Regions from separate parts of the Homo sapiens genome. Here all the other regions are linked to region 2. The links are contacts of gene promoters, found by promoter capture Hi-C in blood cells and fetal thymus (Javierre and others, 2016). All regions are on one chromosome and are shown on one strand. The core of a region is centred on a gene start or on the middle of the fragment in contact, and the rest is flanking DNA. Distances in the headings are between cores, read along the strand shown. Region 1 has its middle 35 kb from the start of C10orf67. Region 2 holds the start of ARL5B (ARF like GTPase 5B). Region 3 has its middle 7.6 kb from the start of OTUD1. Region 4 has its middle 19 kb from the start of OTUD1. Region 5 holds the start of C10orf67 (chromosome 10 open reading frame 67). Region 6 overlaps LOC107984215 (a long non-coding RNA gene). Region 7 has its middle 17 kb from the start of C10orf67.

Region 1 (2,915 bases), core at 251-2,750, 4.7 Mb before region 2:
GGAATCTGGAAAAAGGCTTGAGAAAGTTAATCTCTGCCTGATACATGTGGCGAGTGTGAGGGGCCTCAGCCTGCCTAGTGGACTTGAGAAGGAGCAAAACATGGTCCCAGAAGACAAAAATGAAGGTATTGTGAAAGAAGCCAAGATGAGAGAAGAACCAACTACATAATTTGTTACATCCAATGCAAAATGAAAGGCAGAGCCCCTTGTTCAAAAAGCAGGACAAAAGTACTTTTAAGGAACTAAAATATAAAGCTCTTTCCTTTCTTCCATGGTCTTTCAGTTTGTTCTGGTGTGTTTTATTTGCTATTTGATGCTATTCCAGGTAAAGAAAAATTGAAATTCGATTTTCAGCAAGAAACGGGGTCTTGCTGTATCACCCAGGATGATCTCGAACTCCTGTTCTCAAGCGATCCTTCTGCCTCGGCCTCGGGAAGTGCTGGGATTACAGGCGTGAGCCACTGCGCCTGGCCTAAAAAAAATTTTTTTAATTAAAATTATTAGTATACATTTTACCATTTGTCTTGTGCAAAGTCAATCTTTCTTCTTTCTTCCAGGGGGGACGCTTGAATTGATTTTATGGAGCCGTAAGGCATTAAAGATACCTTTTTGTCCATTTTATAACATGTTATCGTTTCTTCTTCTTTGTTTTTAGCTCTAAAACAAATCCTAAAGTCCGTAATTACCAAGTAAGTTACTACTTTTATAAGTTCTCATTTAATACTGCCCTATGTTTTCTAAAAGTTCTACAGTGAGCAATCATTAATTTCTTATAATTAGATCTAAAAAAATAAAAATAGCAGCCAGGCGCGGTGGCTCACGCCTGTAATCCCAGCACTTTGGGAGGCCGAGGCAGGTGGATCACGAGCTCAGGAGATCCAGACCGTCCTGGCTAACACAGTGAAACCCCATCTCTACTAAAAATACAAAAAATTAGCCAGGCATGGTGGCGCGCACACCTGTAGTCCCAGCTACTCGGGAGGCTGAGGCAGGAGAAGCTCTTGAACCCAGGAGGCAGAGGTTGCGGTGAGCCAAGATCACGCCATTGTACTCCAGCCTGGACAACAAGAGTGAAACTCCGTCTCAGATGAATACATAAATACATAAATAAATTAAAAAAGGCTACTCTGCCTATGGGGTAGTTCTGCTCTGCCTATGGAGCAGCCACCCTTTTATAAAAAATGAAAATAAAAAATAATAACAATAAATTTTGTTTTGATAAATGAGTAACAGAAAAGCCCTTCCCTCAACCCTTGTTTCTTGGTCATCTGTACTACCTATTTTTCTTTTTGTTAAAATTGACATAAATTCACATACCATAATGTAATGCCTGTTTTCAATGAAAATATGAGAACATTAACTTATATGTAGAATCATTGAAATTATATAATTCATCTTTTTTAACTGCTACATGCAGATATATTTTGTTCTTACCAGAACTGCATAAAACTAACTCAAACGTTTTTGTTTCACTTCTTAATATGTGCACATTCTGTCAATACTCTCTTCAGTTTACTGATTAGTAAGGAAAGACTAAAAGGAAAAGGAACTACGAGTTGCCCCATCTTCCCCTTTCCTTTAATGTCCTCATTGTTGAGGGTGTCAGCTAATATACGGAAATAATACAAGAAAGGATATGATGGAATTCATTGGTTATCCATATTTCTTAGAATGCTGTAGGGGAGCTACAATTTCTCCTTTTTCCTATTACCCAGCTAGTCCTAAGAATTAAACTGACATAAGACCAACTAACAGGAGAAAAGTATACAGATTTAATGTGGTAACATTTTCACAGGAGCTCCCACAAGAAAAATGAAGACCCAAAGAAGAAGTTAGGGACAAAAGCTATATACTGGGTTGGACCTAGAGGAGTAATTTGTGAAATGTGGCAAGACAAAGGGGTCTGGGCTAGGGCAGTTAATTGTTGAAAAGTGGCTAGGAAAACAAGGCATAGTTTAACAAGGTGTATTTGAACATATTTCTCTGGGCCTCAACTCCCTGATTCTGGTGATATCTTCCTCCTGGTATAGGGAAGACATCTTTTACATAGGAGTTTTAGTTACTGCTTTCAGGAAGAAAAAGAGAAGGTCAGCATGCCTTTCTTGCATCTGCTGCTTTTCAAGTGCCTGTAACTCAAAATAATCAGTATGTGAAAGTGGCATATTTCGGGGTAGCATGCTCTGAACCCTTTCAATGCCATGGCCATTGTCTGAACTGCATTGGAAGCAAGTTCTGGTCCTAAGAAAGTGTGGTCCACCAAGGCTGTCAGCACCTCTGCTTACTCAGTCCCAGATATAACATGCGTTGAGTCTTGCTCAACTCCCGTCCATGGTGGATTTGTCAAAATTCTGTGCTCATGGGCAGCACAAACACAACATGTGAGCTAGGGTGAACTGGAGCCCATGGTAGACATGCATATTTTGTGTATCTCCTCTGCTTCACACACATGTTCCATGGGCCCAGCAGAGTTCACTTAGAAAATACAAGGTGAAAGGTATAATTATGAAGGCCATGGAGCATTAAACCAAGCATGGTGCCCTAGTAAGCCTGGAGCCATGTGCGCCTGACAAGTCATGCTTCCATGATGCCACCCAGGGTGCAAAATGGAAAAAGAGATGTGATGGTTCCCACACCCATTTCTTCTCATTAGTAACATGGGACACACCTGTAGTGTTACAAGTCCAAGGGTGAGCTGGTTTTGTACCTTTCACTCAAGGGTCTTAATGAATTTAATTACATTCACTCAGTGACTTTTGTTTTTCCAAATCGACAGGTCTGAATCATGTTAGTCTGTTTTTAAATGGAAAGCCCTTCTGATAACTTGAATGCTTTGTCATGATCCCTTCCTGTAACTTCTCCAGGCTCACTTTTTTCCCCCCTAACCAAGGGCTGTGAATGTGGGAGCGCACTATCCT
Region 2 (3,151 bases), core at 128-2,627:
AAGCTCTGCTCACTTTGAAATCATTTGATAAGTAATATTATCTGTGGTTACTGGATACAGGCATATACATATATATACACATGTGTGTGCCTGTATCTATATTTATAACCTTGAAAAAGACTGCTTTAGTGTTCTTATCAATCTACAGAACAAGTCAACTAAAGCCATTCCATTACCTCCACAACTTCTTAAATCCAGAAAAAGATTAGATACCTACATTAGCAGTAACAAATTGGTACCAACATAAAAGGAAATAAAACTGGCTTATTAACGATGCCCGGCTCTTAAATGTAAAATGAAACGAGTTGATTTTCAAAACTGGTTTCAATTACTAAGAAACCATTCTGTTCAAAGGACGCCTCAAACTTTAACTTATCGTCGGCCCCTTTTTTGGTCTGGGTGTTTTCTCTCTTCAGAAGACATCACATCTCATTCTGATTCAGAACAGGTTTTGCAACTTCTCGGCCCTTTGGACCTGCCACTTCCAGGTGTCTCATTACCTGTTACAGACTAATTACGGACACGTAACGTCTTACACAAAACCGAAAAGCATTTAGTTTCTGAACTAAATGCTTTAAAAAAAAAAGTTTACAATGAAGATGCTGGAAAACTCGTGCATCTGAATAGGACAACTCATTCCCAAGTCCTAGAGGAAAGGAGGCGAAATCAGAGTGAAAGTGCACTGGCTTACGGCTCAAACTGCAGGGCGGGAAAACAAAGCACCTACATTACTCAAAAAAAAAAAAGTTCTAGGTTTCTGGGCGGACACTTATCCTGGGGATACACATAGACACAAGCACGCTTCAATAAAGACGAGAAAGGCCCTCCATACGCCTCCTGGCATCATTAGCTGTATCCCGCTTTACTTCGCCAATATCCAAACATTCTCAGTTTGGATTCTGGGACGCCAAATACCTTCTCTTCTGCCTCCCTATTTCTCCCACACGTCAGGTCTCTCCTGTACGTCCTCCAGGTCTAAAACACTGAGTTTCTGCCCGCCCCCTGGCCTAAGTCCCTTCCTCCTCCGCGTCTCCGAACGCTCTGTCCCCTGTCTCCGGTGTCCCCATCGGCGGCGGGACCCTCTGCCTCGGATTCGAGCCGCCGCGCAGCTCCATTCTTCTCACCTTGGTTACAGAAGAGGCTCCACAGTTTGGCGAAGATCAGCCCCATCACGAGCACCGGGGCGGGCCGCGGGGTCCCTCGGCAGCAGGTGCCGCTGCGCCGGGTCCCCCACCGCGGCGCGGGCTGCGCGGAGCCGAGGAGAACCCGCCTGAGATCGCGCAGCGAGGGCACTGCTAGGCCGAGAAGCCTCGACCCGACCACTCAGAAGGCGCCGCGACGAATCCCCACCGGACAGCCCTTTGTTTCGAGCCCACTGAGCCCAACGCCGACCCGTAGTCCCCTCGGTCTGTACCCACCTACCTACCACAGCCTCTCCACAGCCCCAAGCCCCGCCTCCACCCCGCCTCCCCTCCGGATCCCAGGACCACCCATCGCCGGAAGCTAGGCGCGTGACGACGGCGCACTTACGGCAACCCACGCCTTCGACGTGGCGTTTTCTTCGGTTTCACTTCCGGTAGGAGAGTCCCAAACGGCCAGCGGCTGGGAATTTGCGGTATCGCGGGGGGGTGGGAAATTTCCCTTGGTGCGTGCTCCTTCTGATGTCAGCCTTCAAAACGTTTGTGGGACTCCCCTTTGATTTGAGTCTCTGCTGCTAGCAGCTGCTTCCCTGACCTCTAAAACCAGGAAAGACCATAGGTTCTCTAAGTGAGCAGCCGCCGTTTGCTGCTCTTAGAAAACTCACAGAAGTGAAGAGTGTTTCTTTCCTGACTTATTCCTGTTCCCCTAGGCAGGCGTGCTAGGGGTTAGGAGTTCTGCCGTGATTCTTCTTCATTCATTTATTAATCTATTCATTCACGTATTCATTCATTGGCTTATGCATTTATGTACTCATTGATTGATTGATCGATTGCAGACGAGGTCGGGCTGTGTTGCCCAGGGGGACTCAATTTCCTGGGCTCAAGCGATCTTCCTGCCTCGACTTCCCAAAGTGGTGGGATTGCAGGCTCAGCCACCGCGCCCGGCCCCTGTCGTGATTCTTAGTTCTGAAAAGAATTGATTGGGAGACGAGCCATGGAAGGCCTGGAGCCACAGAGTTCAGTTATGTGATTAATAATAACACATAATAATAACACATAGCACCCCTCTCCATTTTGCCAAGCATTAGGTATGTTCGTGGATCCCAGATCGAAGTCCACGCATAAGCCAATTCGCTGTGTAATTGTTTTCAATTCCACTTTCCATGGTTAGGTTCTAGCATTGAAAAGAAAAGCTTCACAGCCTGGCATGAAACGAAACTGAATGTCCTTGAAACCAGTTGACGGAGGAGCAAGCTTAAAATTTTTTTAGACTCTGACTTCAGTCAGATGGTTGGATTTTAACCTTGGCAACGTGGCCTTTTAACATGCCAAACTCTTGAGTTAACCTGTACAAGGAGAATGTATGACTTACGTCCTCCCAGTGCTATGGTTTAAAGACCCTTTAAGACTTAGATGCAGGATAATATGCTCCAACGTTACAACATTAAAGGCAAGTTTCAACCTCCTATGTAGAGGAAAAAGAATGTACTGACCCTATGCAAACTTAACTTTCATGACTATCAGTTGGACCATAAATGTGAATAATTTTGTGTTTGTGTAAGTAATGGCTTAAAAGGACATTTTTAGTCCTAGCTTCATTATCACAAAACAAACTTTAGATTCCGTAACAGCTTCTTCAATTGTTAGACATGGATGTAAACCACATTCTGCTTTTTTTTTTTTTTTCTGGCTTTCGGATTTCTAAGAAACCATTTCTGAAAAGAACAAAGCATTTTTGTATGAAGATGCAGACATTTGGCTGGGCGCTGGGGCTCATGCTTGTAATCCCAGCACTTTGGGAGGCTGAGGCGGGTGGATCACGAAGTCAAGAGATGGAGACCATCCTGGCCAACATGGTGAAACCCTGTCTCTACTAAAAATACAAAAATTAGCCGGGTGTGGTGGCACGCGCCTGTAATCCTAGCTACTCAGGAGGCTGAGGCAGGAGAATTGCTTGAACCTGGGAGGCAGAGGTTGCAGGGAGCAGAGATCACACCAGGGCACTTCAGCCT
Region 3 (2,712 bases), core at 34-2,533, 4.8 Mb before region 2:
TAGAAAAGGAGAACAGTAGACTAGAACCATCTTGTTCTGTGCTCTGTTGCCTGCTTCTAGTTGCCTTAACCGATACTATGGACAGGTCTGCTAACAGTAACTAGGCCTGCACAGGTTTAAATAGAAGTATAATCATATGTCCCTTGTTTGTAAATAGCTTAACATAAAGTAGGAAAAACAAGACACCCGCACACACCCAAACGTTGAATAACTGCAGTAAATGCAGAAATCTGTTACCAAGGATGATTCTAACATAACTCAGTTGGCTGTTTGTGTGGCAACATTTTAAAAATCCACAATCTTTGTAATGTTTACCTAGTAGCTAAATGTCTGTAAATAAGTGAACGTGATAACAATATGACTTACCCCTCCTAGAGACCATAAGGGTGTTTCTGTGGGGAGCAGGCAACAGCCACACCCCACCCTCCTTCTATATGGGTAGAAGGCCAGACTGAGAAACACACCCTTCATGACTAAGAGCTCAATTGTAAAAATGCCCAGATATTATAAAACTATTTTACCAAGACTTAAGGAAATGAGAAAAGAGGACCAGGCACAGTGGCTCATGCCTGTAATTCCAGCATTTGGGGAGGATGAGAGGGGAGGATTGCTTGAGACCAGGAATTCAAGACCAGCCTGGGCAACATGGCAAAATCCCATCTATACAAACAGTATAAAAATTAGCCGGACATGGTGATAAGTGCCTGTAGTCCCAGCTACTCAGGAGGCTGAGGCTGGAGGATTGCTTGAGCCCAGGAGGTTGAGGCTGCAGTGAACTATGATCATGCCACTGCACTCCAGCCTGGGTGGCCAAAAAGAAAAGGAAAGAAAAAGAAGAGAAAAGAGGATAGATATTAAGTTACTTTAATATTGCTTTTTATTTAATTTAAAAAAGTGTGTTAAAAAATTAAAGCAATGCACATGTGTAAAAATAGAAGTAAAATTCCTTTACATCCCATCCCATCTCCCTCATCTCCCACTCCAGTGGTAACTACTGTTTACATTTATTGTATATATTTTCAGACTTTTTAATACGCATATATAGATTATATATATCATACACATGTGAGCAAAAATTTGGCATTACAGGATTATATGGTACATATTTTCTCTGCACTATACTTTTTTCTTTACTTAATTAGTATATACTGGACACGTTTCATGTCACAATATGTAGCTCCACCTTATTCTTTTTTTGTTTTTGTATTTAATTTATTATTTATTTATTTCGAGACAGGGTCTTGCTCTGTCACTCAGGCTGTAGTGCAGTGGTGCAATCATGTATCACTGTAGCCTCAACCTCCTAGGGTCAACTGATCCTCCCACTTCAGCCTCCAGAGTAGCTGAGACTACAGGTGTGTGCCACCATGCCTGGCTAATTTTTTTTATTTTTAGTGGAGAGGAGGTCTCTCTATGTTGCCCAGGCTGGTTTTGAACTCCAGAGCTTGACCGATCCTCATACCTCAGTCTCTCAAAATGCTGGGATTACAGGCAGAGTTTCTGCTAATGAGGTGACTTAGGGTGGGACCCCTGATTAGCCCCAGGATGGGGCTGATCAACAGAAAGAGCAAGTGATTAGAGGATTAGAGGGTCGAAAGTTTCAGCCCCACCCACCAACTTCCAGGAAAGGGGTTGTGGGGGACACTGGAGATTAAACTTCATAAAAACTCTTGGACAATGAAAGCTCTATTCTCTCTCCTCCATACTTCAGCCTCTGTATCTTTTCATCTCTATTCTTTGTAATACTCTTCATTAATAATAATACACTAATAAATGCAATTATTTCTCTGAGTCCTGTGAACCATCCTAGCAAATTAATCAAACCAAAGTAGGGGATCATGGGACCCCCAGATTGCAACCAGTCGGTCAGAGGTATAGGTAACAACCTACTACTTGCAATTGATGTCTGAAGTGAGGTCAGTCTTGTGGGACAGAGCCCTCAACCTCTGGGATCTGACTCTAACTCCAGGTAGATAGTGTCAGAATTAAACTGAATTATAGGACACCTAGTTGGTGTCCACCACAGAACTGCTTGGTGTGTAGAGAAAAACCCCTACACCTGGTCACAGAAGTGTTCTGTGTTGAGTAGAAATTGCAGAGAAAAAATAATTGTTTCCCTTTCACAGGAACGTATTTTTTTCCTTAAGAATCTTCTTGATGGTTGAAATTATAAATGTAACTACTATGAAGCCAACACATTGTTTTAAATGTAAATAGTTTTTATGGGATTTATTATTATGAAAATAATACATGGTCATCACAAAAAAGTCGAAAGCTATAAATAAGCAGAAGAGAGAGAGAAACAATTTTTTAAAAATAGTCCTCCCAGGGTCTTGGTGTGGTGGTTTATGCCTATAATGACAGCACTTTGGGAGGCAGAGATGGGAGGATTGCTTCAGTCCAGGAGTTTGAGGCCAGCCTGGGCAATGTGGCAAGTCCCTGTCTCTACAAAAAAAACCTTAAAAATTAGCCGGATGTGGTGGCATGAGCCTCTTGTTCCAGCTACTCAGGAGGCTGAGGTGGGAGGATCCCCTGAGCCCAGGAAGTCAAGACTTCAGTGAGCCATGTTCCTGCCACTGCACTCCAGCCTGGGCAACAGAACAAGACTCTGTCTCAAAAACAAACAAAAAAACTCACCCAGGACTGGGCGCAGTGGCTTACATCTGTAATTCCAGCACTTCAGGAGGCAAAGGCAGAGGATCACTTGAGACC
Region 4 (2,857 bases), core at 69-2,568, 4.8 Mb before region 2:
TGAGGGGGTGGCAGGGGTGTCACATGGCAGAGAGGAAGCAATAGAGGGGAGGGAGGTGCCAGGCTCTTTTCAACAATCAGATCTCTTAGATGTACATATTTCAGTGTGCAAAACAATAAAAAATTTAAAAAGACAAAAGAAAAAACAATCAGATCTCATGGGAACTAACAGAGTGAGAACTCACTTGCATGAGATTGACACCAAGCCATTTATGAGGGATCTGCCCCTGTGACCCAGACACCTCCCACTGTAATCGCCCAAGGGGTTCACCTTGCCCGCTGCCTAGACAGAGCTGATTCATCAAGACAAGGGAATTGCAATCGACAAAGAATAATTCACGCAGAGCCAGCTGTGCAGGAGACCGGAGTTTATTATCACTCAAATCGGTCTCCCAGAGCATTAGGGGAGCAGAGTTTTTAAGGATAACTTGGTGGGTGGGGGGAAGCCAGTGAGCCAGGAGTGCTGACTGGTCAGAGATGAAATCATAGGGAGTCGGAGCTGTTTTCTTGTGCTCAGTTAGTTCCTGGGTGGGGGCCACAAGATCAGATGAGCCAGTTTATTGATCTGGGTGGGGCCAGCTGATCCATCAAGTGCAGGGTCTGCAAAATATCTCAAGGGCTGGTCTTAGAAGCACTTTAGGGAGGGTCAGAATCTTGTAGCCTCCAGCTGCATGACTCCTAAACAATAGTTTCTAATTTTGTGTCTAATGTTAATCTTACGAAGGCAATCTAGTCCCCAGGCAAGAAGGAAGTCTGCTTTGGGAAAGCGCTATTACCGTCTTTGTTTAAATTATAAACTAACTTTCTCCCAAAGTTAGTTCAGCCTACGCCCAGGAATGAACAAGGACAGCTTGGAAGTTAGAAGCAAGATGGAGTCAGTTAAGTTAGATCGCTCACTGTCTCAGTCATAGTTTCGCAAAGGCGGTTTCACCACTAGGCCTCACCTGCAACATTTTGGGATCAAATTTCAACAGGAGATTTGGAGGGGACAGATACTCAAACTACATCAACCTGATTCTAAGCCCTGAGGTCTTGGTTTCTGTAGTTTTCTCTTCCACTCTGTAAGCTATGCTAGGATCCCACTCAGCAACTTGGATCAATAGATTTCCAATCCTTATTTTGTTTGTTCTTACAAAGCCAGTTTCCATGAAGTTTCTGGCATTTGCACCCTAAAGAATTCTGAATAATTCCCCACTCTTCATCTTTAAGAAGCAGAGTGAAGCTGACCTTCCCCATAATGTTGTCTTCAGTAGCATTGGAGAGGTGGCCAAGGGCAGCTCTTAGGACCTGGCAATTGGCTCTTCCCCTGGAAGGTTCTACAATGCTCAGAATTCACTATCTTCTCTGCATATATATACATGTGTAAATATGGACTTATTTACATGCACAAGAATCAAATTGAATAAATTTATTTCATCTTGGTATTTCTCATCCGATGAAGACATCCATGTTCATGAAACCACCACACAGGGTTGGCAAGAATTGCACTCAGGGTTCTGGACGGAAATATAGTTATAATTAAGCATTCATCAGACTGCACTCTGGCTCACTTCCTTGTTGCTAAAAGTCACGTACCACTGGATCCTGACCATCTGCAACCCTGTTGTTTTTATAGCTAGGATCTCTGACATTAGGGTCATAAGACTGTAAGAATTGATTTGTATCCCCATTGTTCCTATACACAGGATCTCTGACATTAGAATCATAAGGCTTTTGTTTAAGGATTGCTTAAGATGTTTTTCAGATCCATGAATTTCGGCAACCAATTTGAAGACTCACACAGAGGAATGGAATCAGCATGAGAATACAACTTCCTCATCTCCCTGTTCCATGACGCCCTGTGTTCTTCAACCCATCAATGATCCCCACACTTTGGCCCACTCCAAAACCCTTAGAAACTCTAACCCCAAATTCCTTGGGGAGACAGACTTGAGGTTTCTCCCCATCTCTTGGTTCACTGACCCTATGATTAAACCTGTTTCTCTGCTGCAACCCAGTGTCTTGATGTATTGACTTGCTGTATGTATCAGGCAACAAACCTGTCAGGCCTCTGAGCCCAAGCCAAGCCATCACATCCCCTGTGACTTGCACGTATACATCCAGATGGCCTGAAGTAACTGAAGATCCACAAAAGAAGTAAAAATAGCCTTAACTGATGACATTCCACCATTGTGATTTGTTCCTGCCCCACCCTAACTGATCAATGTACTTTGTAATCTCCCCCACTCTTAAGAAGGTTCTTTGTAATTCTCCCCACTCTTGAGAATGTACTTTGTAAGATCCACCCCTACCCGCAAAACATTGCTCTTAACTTCACTGCCTATCCCAAAACCTACAAGAACTAATGATAATCCACCACCCTTTGCTGACTCTCTTTTCGGACTCAGCCCACCTGCACCCAGGTGAAATAAACAGCCATGTTGCTCACACAAAGCCTGTTTGGTGGTCTCTTCACATGCACGTGCATGAAAAAACCTATTATGGTTATGTTCATACTATTCATAATATTTATGATTTTATGAATTTTCATCATACTTCTTATTCATCTTATCTCTCTTAATACTTCTTATTCATCTTATCTCTCCTAATCTTTCTATATTTCACAGAGAATTTGCTCACCCACTGAGAGTCATAAGGTCTTCCTTAGTTCAAGCTTTCCTAAACCTAGCTGATCATCAAAACCACCTGGGGAGGCTCAAAAATATAATGCCCATTTCCCACTCCAGTGCTAAATCTCATGGGGCCATTCTCTGTGCGCGCGCGCGCGCGCGCGCACACACACACACACACACACACACACACACACACACAGACATCCATACCCTAGTGAAACTAATGGTCTCTATCTATGAGGGTTT
Region 5 (3,056 bases), core at 429-2,928, 4.7 Mb before region 2:
GCCCAAAATTCTAAATCGAGTAAGTTTCAAAGCCTGTATATATTTAATATTTACTGCAGAGTTCATGAGCTTTCCACTAAAGCCATCAATGAATTTAGCATGTGATAAAAGAGGCCTGGATTTAATATGACAAATGTTTTGACCACATCAACGCCAGTTACTACAGGTGAGAATCTGATCTGAAATAAACAATTTTATAAGCCGGAACACCTGTGAGATAAAATACAGGTAACTGACAAGAAGAGAAGTATTATGTAGTTAACGGTTTCAAAAACAATCATCATCATAGCGTGGTCTCTTAGACACTGAAATCTGAAACTCCTTGATATGCTATAGCAAGGTTTCAAACAAAGATGTTCTGTTCAATGCATGTTTTTGTGGGATGGCGTAACTATGCAGACTATATCAGTCAACAAATGCTGTACAGAGCTGACCAATGACTCATGAAATCTTCTGTGCGATCTCTCTCCTCAGTTTCAAACGATTCATTTATAATTGCACTAGGAAAATAGCCAACAGCTTGTCACATTCTTTACACTGTCTTGGCCCAGCTCTAAACAGATAGGTTTTGAAATTTTAACTTAAAATTTTAATCTTTATTTTAAAACATGTATATACATTGTGGTAAAATATCACTTAGGAAAAAGAAAAGTTATTGTAGATATATAAATTTCTTTCTTTTAAAATACCTTTTGATTATATAATAAAAATTCCCCAAATAAAGTCTGAAGTTAGAGTTTGTAATTAAAAACCTCCAAAGAGTAAAAGTAACTCTTTTTCTCTTCTCTCTTCATCTCCCCCCCAAAAAATAAGCCTTCACAGAAGATGATTTTGGCATTGGTTATGATGTTTTATTGGCATTTGGGGCTTTTAATCTTTGTCTTTAAACATAATAGTAGTGATAATGCTACAGTGCTTTTCTTTTCCTGTTTTGAGCTTCTAAATCCAGCTAAGTTATTTTCACTTACTGTTACAAGACAGAGAAGAGGCCGGGCTCTGTGGCTCACGCCTGTTATCTAGCACTTTGGGAGGCCGAGGGGGGCAGATTGCCTGAGCTCAGGAGTTAGACTAGCCTGCACAACGCGGTGAAACCCCGTCTCTACTAAAAATACAAAAAATTAGCCTGGCTTGGTGCTGTGTGCCTGTAGTCCCAGCTGCTCGGGAGGCTGAAGCAGGAGAATTGCTTGAACCCGGGAGGCGGAGGTTGCAGTGAGCCCAGATCGCGCCACTGCACCCCAGCCTGGGCGACAGAGCGAGACTCCGGCTCCAAAAAATAATAATAATAATAATAAGAGAGAGGAGAAAAAACTTATTTTTCTGTAGATAATATATTGAAATGCAGATGTAGTATAGACAGTTCTAAACCAGACAATGACATTTTAAAAATAAATTTAGCCAGTCGTTTACAGAAAAACAATGACATACTGATATTAGAATAGGTGTCTCCTATTAGTTGACAATGAGTGATACATAATTTAAAACTAAGGATGACAACAGTTTCACTATTAACTCTTATTATTGTAGAAACCTGGTAAAATTGAATTCCACACTAGATGGTATAGTTTAAGACTTAACGCCTCACATTCTGACCTCATTAAATAGAAATCTGTTTAATCTCTGCAAGGAAATATTTTGTCCAGGAACGCCTACGTTTGTGGCAGGTGGAGACAGCTTATTAGGCAGCCTGCTCTCCTCTTATGATGGCCTTGGTCCGGGATCGCAGGGCTCATTATGTCATGAGCATAGTTATTAGATGGGTTCACTGCTTTTCCTCCTCCTTGAGGGGGACCTTTGGCACACGCTGGGAGGCCATGAAAGCCAAGGCCACCGAGCTGCGGGTCTGCTGCGCGCGTAGGAAGCGAGAAGCTCGGGAATTCAAGCCCCCGCAAATGCGCGGGTCCACGAGGTAGGCTGAGCTCCGCGCCTGGGTAGAGGAGGAAGCGAGCAGGGTCCAGGGGCACGGCGGGAGGCTGAAGGGTTATTTACGGGGGTGCAGCTTTCCTCTGGGGTATCGCAGCAGCCTCCAGGCTGTGGGAGTCTTGTGGGGAAGCCTTGAGGCAGGCGGGACAGTGAAAGCGCAGCGGGGTGGCTTGGGAGCCCGCCCCGCCTCCTCCTCCCCCTCTCCACTCCCCTCCTCCCGCGCGTGCTCCCTCCCCATCCTCCTTTCCATCTCTTCCCCCTTCCCCCACTCCTTCCCCCTCTTCCTTCCCTCCACACCTCCTCTACTTCCTTTCCCTCTCCCCTTCCCCCCCATCCCCAACCTTCTCCCTATCCCCCTCCTCCCCATCTCCTTCCCCCTTCCCCTCCCCACCCCGTTCCCCACCCCCCTCCACTCGCGGCCCTCCCCGGCCCCCGCCCACGGATTCCCGCGCTTCGCCGGTTACCTGGGAGTCGCCATGGCAACGGACGCCGGGTTCCCGACTCCGACTCAGGAGAGCGAGCGGCTCCGCGGGAGGCGCACGTCCGGGGCTGCAATGGCGAACTGGGGCGACTCGCCTGAGACAGAGGAGGGCCGGAAGATCATGGAGGGCCTCGAGGCCTCTATTGAACAATTCCAGTTCAACCCCAGGTGACCAGCGGGAGAGGCAGTCCCCGCCGGCCCGCCCCGGAGCCCTCGCGCCCCGGCCCTCGCTCAACGCCTTTCCAGGCCCCTTGCTCCAGCCGCTGGGCTTCAGTTTTTTGTTTGTTTTTCGAGGGGATCACTGTCCGAAAAGAGCTGCAGTTTTCACTTCTTCAAGTGTATAGCTGGACACTAAGAGCACGGACTCTGGAGCCAGACTGCCCGGATTCCAGAATCTTGGCGACCCTCTCACAGGGGCCGTGAGTTAGGCGACTGACTGCTCTGTGCCTCAGTTTTCTCAGCGGGAAATAATCGTTCATGAATGATGAAGAGTAGTGCCTGCTTCATAGATCATAGTGAATATTAAATGAGCTAATCTAGGACACAGTACCCGTCTTAGTCCCCTCGGGCTGCTGTAACAAAACAACATAGGCTGGGTGGCTTATAAGCAACAGGAATTTGTTTCTCCCAGTTCTGGAGGCTGGGAAGCCCACTG
Region 6 (2,969 bases), core at 303-2,802, 4.4 Mb before region 2:
TTTAATAAACGTTAGTTGTTATTGAAGATTTAATGAGGACAACGGTAATTGGTAAACAGAGCTGATAACCAATCTATCCTTGCATTTCTACATATCCTCACACTCCCAGAAAGACATTCTAAGCACAGAGGAAGTCCCTCCCTCCCTACCACCATTCTCCTTTACACCTGCTAGGAGGACCTTTACCTCATCTGTGATCAAGCCCTTACTGGTCTTAAAATGTCCCCTCTTCTCACCACCATTTATCTGAATCCAACTTAACCATCAAGGCCATGCATTAACCTCACATTCTTGGACACATGGTCTTAGCCTGAACAAAACTCTACTTTATGTTTTCCCTTTTACTTTGTACACTGAGTGGTAGAGACTATCATTTGCCTGGCCGATATCCACTCTCTCTACTTACAAACAGATCTTTGATTTTATTAAGAGTAGCAATATGCCTAGCTAAAATGTTACATCTGTCAGCTCCCTTGTAGTTGGTGGCAATCATATGATGCTGTTATGGGCAATGATAGGAGCAGACATCACTGGGAGCTACCAGGAAAACTAGTTAAAGAGGAGCTGGCTCAGCACTGGACTTTTGCTCTGTCTTTTGTTTCTGCTTGGAAATTAGTCATGATGGCTGGAGCACTGGCAATCTTCTGGTATACATGAAGATGAGACCCACATCTTGATTTTAAAGAAGTAGAAGACATGAAGGAGCCCAGGATTCTGAAGACAGTGTGGAGTCAATATGCTAGTCTTGGATTGCCTGCCTTCAGATTTCCAATTACATGAGAGACCAATAAATCTATATTTTGTTTAAATCACTGTTACTGGGATTTTCTGTTTCATGAAGTTGACACAGTGTATATCTGATGTCCTGAATTTGATTGTGAGAATCTTCAGGAAAGGCAAAATTCTATAACTTTGACTCTTTGTATATCCAACACACTTCTCTGCAAACTATAAATTTGATAATAAAATCCCTAAAAGATAGGATAGAATGACCAAAAAATGGGAGATAAGTGCAAAAGCCAATTTGCTTTTCCCTACCAAAAACCATTTGGGAAAGAATGAGGGACTGGAATAAGCTTTACACAATTAATCTGCACTGAAAATACTTTATCTGCTTCCATCTGCCCAAAGTTCAATGTCGATACTCATTTTTGTTTTACCTCAATCTAGAGAATTCCTAGAAACTAACCAACTGGAACATCTAATATATATAAAATATAGTTTTAAAGCTCTAAAGGCAGTGAATGAAGACTTAAATAAATGGTTCGATAGAAAAAAATAGCATGGGATAAGCTCTGGGTTCAATTTCTAGGTGTTCTCCTAAGCAGATACAGATGTTTTGGACAAACCAGTCTCTGGGCCTTGGTTTGATTATCTGGAAAATGACACGAATACAGGGGAGGGTGGCCTAGAACTAGAACTCAAATTATATCTCAACTCTCTTCAGTCTGTAATTATATGACGGGTGGTGAAAAATGGAAAGATACACTTGCTGACCAAAGAGCTGAAATTACGAAGGTTAAAATACATTCAACTTATAGATTTAAGCTATGTCACTTATAATCCCAATGGATTACTTTACAGGAATTGAAAAAATAACAACTGAAATAAATGTGGATAAAAATAGACTTTTATGTTAAAGATAATATTGGAGAAGTAGCCTCTCACATGTTAAAAGTGCTTATCAAGGAAGAGTAGATATGAAAACAGTGTTCTGATTGAAATAATAACCAAAAAATAGTCCAGAGAGATAAGAGGTTCCAGAAATTAATACATATTTAACCTATTAGAAACAAGGGGATATAAAATTATTCAGTATATTTTTTGTGGGAAAGTGACTATCAATACAGGGGAAGTAACCTTGGCGTCTAAGGCTTAGATGAATAATTCACTTCAAAAGAATTATTTTTTGAGTTAAAAGTAGTATGTGGATATGTGTATCATGTCAGAGCTCAGAGTACAATACCCCCCAAGTATGGTGCTCTGGTATGCTGAGCATTTTTGAATTAAATGAAATTGGAAAGCTTTAGAAGCTGCCTCAGAAACAACGACTTTCTAACTTTTTATTTCTTCCCCACAAGTGAAGAGAAGGGCTTTCTCCCACTGAGTCTTCCAAAAGAAGTGCAGTTGTCTTAAGATCTCTTTACTAGGAATCTTATCAGATAACCAGGAAAGATTAACTACTGGAGAAGAGGAAAGACTAAAAGTCATCACTATGCCCTGAAACACTTTTTATCTGTTCTTCTGATGGCACCTCTGAGAGATTACTTTATTATTTAAGATTTATTTAAGATTATTTAAATATTTACTATTTAAATAAAAATTAAATGCATAATAGGACAACCTTTGTTCACAGTACAGTTCTGCCCCTCACCTTCCCATAACTGTGGGTCCCATTCTTCTTCCGAAAAGAATAATTCAAAAACTACTGTCTGCTCTTTGGGCCTATTCAATTTTCCTGAAAATTATTTACAATCCCTCAAAATTGCCTAAGTTTCCGCCATCGCCCTCTTCCCTATGAAGAAGATATATAAGTTTCAACAATTTGGCCTTTCTTTGAGTCTCATATTTGTGGGGGTCTTGTGACCATGTGCACTTTAATACATTTGTATGCTTTTTCTTCTGCTACTCTATTGTCAGTTTATTTCAGCAGTCTCACTTCAGAGGGAAAGTTTAAACTTCCCTACCACACATACACAAACACACACACACACACACACACGAAATAAAACAATACTGCATACATCCATTTTGAAATAAAAATAATTTTTGGACAATAAAAGCAATAAAAGGAGTTAGCACTGAACAAATGATAAGGTTGACAGGTTCAAGTGAATGAAATTTAAGTACATACATACATACCACAAGATGAAGAACAAAAAATGATTACTCTCAAATTAGAAAAATTAAAATGATAAAAATACGAGAGTATTGTAATACACATAACAGTAAACATTTAACATTATATA
Region 7 (2,855 bases), core at 290-2,789, 4.7 Mb before region 2:
AGGATGAAAGGTGGAAGCTTGCTGGGTCTCCTTATCCCCACCCACACCTTTGTAAATCTTCCTTTTCTTCTTTCTTTTTTCTTTTTTTTTTTTAATAGAGACTGGGTCTCACTATGTTGCCCAGGCTGTTCTCAAACTCCTGGCCTCAAATGATCCTTCCCACTTCAGCCTCTCAAAGTCCTGGGATTACAGGCATGAGTCACAATGCCCAGCCTTCCCTTTCTTAAGCCTTCCTCAGTTACCCTTTCTAAGTGTGTCATCTGTTTCCTGATGGGACCTTGCCTGGTACTAGGGCCATCTGAGGTTGGAGATCACAATTTATGGTAAAATCAATAGGTCTTGTGGTTTGACTTCCCTTGCTGTACCAAGATGCCCAGGTGTAAACAGAGAAAGCAAGTTATAGTTTAGCCAGCTGCATACACCATGAGGAGAGTCAAGTGAGCTACCAAATTGGCAGCTAATATTGAAATGATGTAAGCTGATGATGGAGGAAGTGAAGAAAGGATATGGTAGAGGGCCTGGGAGGGAGCAGAGGAGTTATCCTGCTCCTTACTGGAGGATCTGGCGGATCAAAAGGCAGGGACCCTGGAGTGGGCAGGAGAAGATGAACCACAAACTAGAGGTTGAGAAAGCATGGTCAGAGAGTGAGATACTTGAATTAGTGAAAACAGAACTGGTCAGACAGAGCTGAAACCCATTTAGGGCCTTTATATGTCCCCAGGGCAATTACTATGAACAGGGGACACTACACAGGGAAATTAAAGAAGAAAAATATTGTTCTCCTCTCTGGAGGACTTAACAGTTGAACTAGGAAGGCAGATGAACAGTGCACATAAAATGCCAACTGAATGGAACAGAGTATAAAAAGATGTTCAGAGGAGGAAGCCTCCCCCAAGGCTGGCCCATTCTGAAAGATGTGGATGTCTTAGTCCCTTGTCTGTTGCTTATAACGGAATACTTGAAACTGGGTAATTTATAAAGAAAAGGAATTTATTAATTTATTTCTTACAGTTGTGAAGACTGGGAAGTTCAAGGTTGAGGGACTGCATCTGGTGAGGACCTTCATGCTTGTGGCAGGGGGACTTCCTGCAGAGCCCCAGGGAGATGCAGGACATCAAATGATGAGGAGGCTGAGCGTGCTTGCTCAATTCCCCCTTCTTCTTCTTATAAAGCCACTAGTGCCTCTCCTCTGATAACCTATTAATTCATGAACCCTCTAATCTATTAATCCATTTTTATGACCAGAGCCTTTATGACCCAATCATCTCTAAAAGGCCCCACCTCTCAATAATGGGATTTACGTTTTAACATGACTTTTGGAGGGGACAAACTTTCAAACCATAGCAGTGGAGGAGGTAGGACTCGATAAAAGCTTTGAAAGAAGGGAGCCTTTGGGTCTGAGAGAGCTGGGTCACTTTAGGCAGGGAGGTTGTGTGAGCTACAGGGCCAGGCATGCGCAAGGAGTTTTGGAATGAACCAGATTAGTAGGAGGGCAGAGTCTGTGGAGAGGAACACAAAAAGAAAAAACCAAGAGATGTGTCAGGGGCCCCCAAGACCATCTCTAGAATTGATGACTTTCTAGAAGGATTCACAAGACTCAGAAAACAGTCATACTCACAGCTGTGATCCATTCCAGCAAAAGCATGCAAAACAAAATCAGCAAAATGCATGGGGCAAAGTCAGGAGGAAACCAGACACAAGCTTCCAAGAGTCCTCTTGGAAGTTACCAGGATGTAGTTAATTCCTACAGCAGCAAATTATGACAACACCTATGAAGTGTTGTCTACCAGTACCAGTCTCATTAGTGACTCAATGTTCAAGATTTTTATTGAGAGCTTGTCACCTAGGGACCCACTTTCTAGCAGTACAGAAATTCCAGACTCCAGGAGGGAAAGCAGGTGTTCAGCAGGAACCACACTGATTGCACAGTTTAAGCATATTGAGCACCACTTCTCAGATAGGGAACGGCAGGAGCCCTTCCCAAATCCAGGTTTCCTGGTGCCAGCCAAGGGCCAACCTTGCAAGCAAGCCTTTCTAAGGGTAGCAGTCTCAGAACTGGTGCATTAAACTCTTCTCCACAAGGAGTTAGTAAGGGATTGTCCTAGGAGGACTTTAGACACTAGCTCAAGGGGATTGGGCTTCATCCTGTGTACCGGATGAAAGGCTATACATTAGAAAGACTCATGGGAAAAAGGGTGGGCCAGTCTGGAAGTGATGTGTAGCATGTTGAAGTAAGAATCACTGGAAGAGGCCAGGTGTGGTGGATCCGCGACCGTAATTCCAGCACCTTGGGAGGCTGAGGCAGGAGGATCACTTGAACCCAGGAGTTCAACAGTGGGGCAACAAAGCAAGACCCCATCTCCACAAAAATAAAAAATCATAAAAATAATTTTTAAAAAGAATGATTGGAAGAAAGAAAAGGCAAGAGAGGAGAGCAAATGGCTGAGCCTGAATGGTGGTGGTTAGCATGGGGACAGTTGTTCATGTTTGGAAGATCCCCAGTAATAGGGGGCTCAGAGAGGTGCTGAGTCCTAGAGTAGAACCAAGTTATTAAGCAGAAAATATAGGAAGAAAAACTTAGACTGAATTCTAATTTTACCAGGACCTCCAGACACTTGACCCTGGGGATCACCCCCCACAGGGAATGGGTGGGACTTAAGGCCAGCACATTTGCATCGATGATAACAGTAACTCACACCTACATAGCACTTTGGAGTTTACAAAGTGTTTTTTGCATATACTGCATTCTAAGGGCAGGTAGTCAACTTGTATAGCTCATAGAGCTGAGACGTGCCAGGGCCAGACCTGAGCTCTGGGTTGTAGCAGGAGCAAAGAGGATTTTCAAAGTTATTTCC

Evidence for each region. The method cuts DNA at HindIII sites, captures the fragments that hold promoters and counts their contacts. A CHiCAGO score of 5 or more calls a contact.
Region 1: a fragment that was not itself captured here is called in contact with the fragment with the promoter of ARL5B in region 2 in 1 of 17 cell types (naive CD8 T cells); the score reaches 6.7 in naive CD8 T cells.
Region 3: a contact is called between a fragment that was not itself captured here and the fragment with the promoter of ARL5B in region 2, in 2 of 17 cell types (monocytes and total CD4 T cells). The highest score is 8.9, in monocytes.
Region 4: a fragment that was not itself captured here is called in contact with the fragment with the promoter of ARL5B in region 2 in 1 of 17 cell types (total B cells); the score reaches 15.5 in total B cells.
Region 5: the fragment with the promoter of C10orf67 here is called in contact with the fragment with the promoter of ARL5B in region 2 in 1 of 17 cell types (naive CD8 T cells); the score reaches 6.2 in naive CD8 T cells.
Region 6: a fragment that was not itself captured here is called in contact with the fragment with the promoter of ARL5B in region 2 in 2 of 17 cell types (activated CD4 T cells and total CD4 T cells); the score reaches 9.5 in activated CD4 T cells.
Region 7: a contact is called between a fragment that was not itself captured here and the fragment with the promoter of ARL5B in region 2, in 1 of 17 cell types (total CD4 T cells). The highest score is 8.4, in total CD4 T cells.

What each region holds. Positions count from the first base shown.
Region 1 is chr10:23,378,542-23,381,456 of GRCh38, reverse strand. No RefSeq gene overlaps it. Among named protein-coding and RNA genes, the nearest start is that of C10orf67, 35 kb to the right of the region's middle. The HindIII fragment of the contact is 6,053 bases long and covers 1-2,915 here.
Region 2 is chr10:18,657,657-18,660,807 of GRCh38, reverse strand. ARL5B (ARF like GTPase 5B) reads right to left here and starts at 1,377. Exons shown (of 6, transcript NM_178815.5): 1 at 1,125-1,377. The coding sequence starts at 1,170. It also overlaps a transcript of NSUN6 not described here. RefSeq lists a silencer at 1,209-1,288 and enhancers at 1,599-1,728, 2,429-2,548. The HindIII fragment of the contact is 6,724 bases long and covers 1-2,334 here.
Region 3 is chr10:23,430,070-23,432,781 of GRCh38, reverse strand. No RefSeq gene overlaps it. Among named protein-coding and RNA genes, the nearest start is that of OTUD1, 7.6 kb to the left of the region's middle. RefSeq lists an enhancer at 1-625. The HindIII fragment of the contact is 5,764 bases long and covers 1-2,712 here.
Region 4 is chr10:23,456,920-23,459,776 of GRCh38, reverse strand. No RefSeq gene overlaps it. Among named protein-coding and RNA genes, the nearest start is that of OTUD1, 19 kb to the right of the region's middle. The HindIII fragment of the contact is 2,672 bases long and covers 1-2,654 here.
Region 5 is chr10:23,343,419-23,346,474 of GRCh38, reverse strand. C10orf67 (chromosome 10 open reading frame 67) reads left to right here and starts at 1,678. Exons shown (of 16, transcript NM_001371909.1): 1 at 1,678-1,906. The coding sequence starts at 1,701. C10orf67-AS1 (C10orf67 antisense RNA 1) reads right to left here and starts at 2,518. Exons shown (of 2, transcript NR_155752.1): 1 at 2,385-2,518; 2 at 1,314-2,051. RefSeq lists a silencer at 261-555. The HindIII fragment of the contact is 9,174 bases long and covers 1-3,056 here.
Region 6 is chr10:23,089,263-23,092,231 of GRCh38, reverse strand. The region is part of intron 1 of LOC107984215 (a long non-coding RNA gene); the gene reads left to right. Among named protein-coding and RNA genes, the nearest start is that of MSRB2, 4.8 kb to the left of the region's middle. The HindIII fragment of the contact is 948 bases long and covers 1,079-2,026 here.
Region 7 is chr10:23,360,102-23,362,956 of GRCh38, reverse strand. No RefSeq gene overlaps it. Among named protein-coding and RNA genes, the nearest start is that of C10orf67, 17 kb to the right of the region's middle. The HindIII fragment of the contact is 329 bases long and covers 1,375-1,703 here.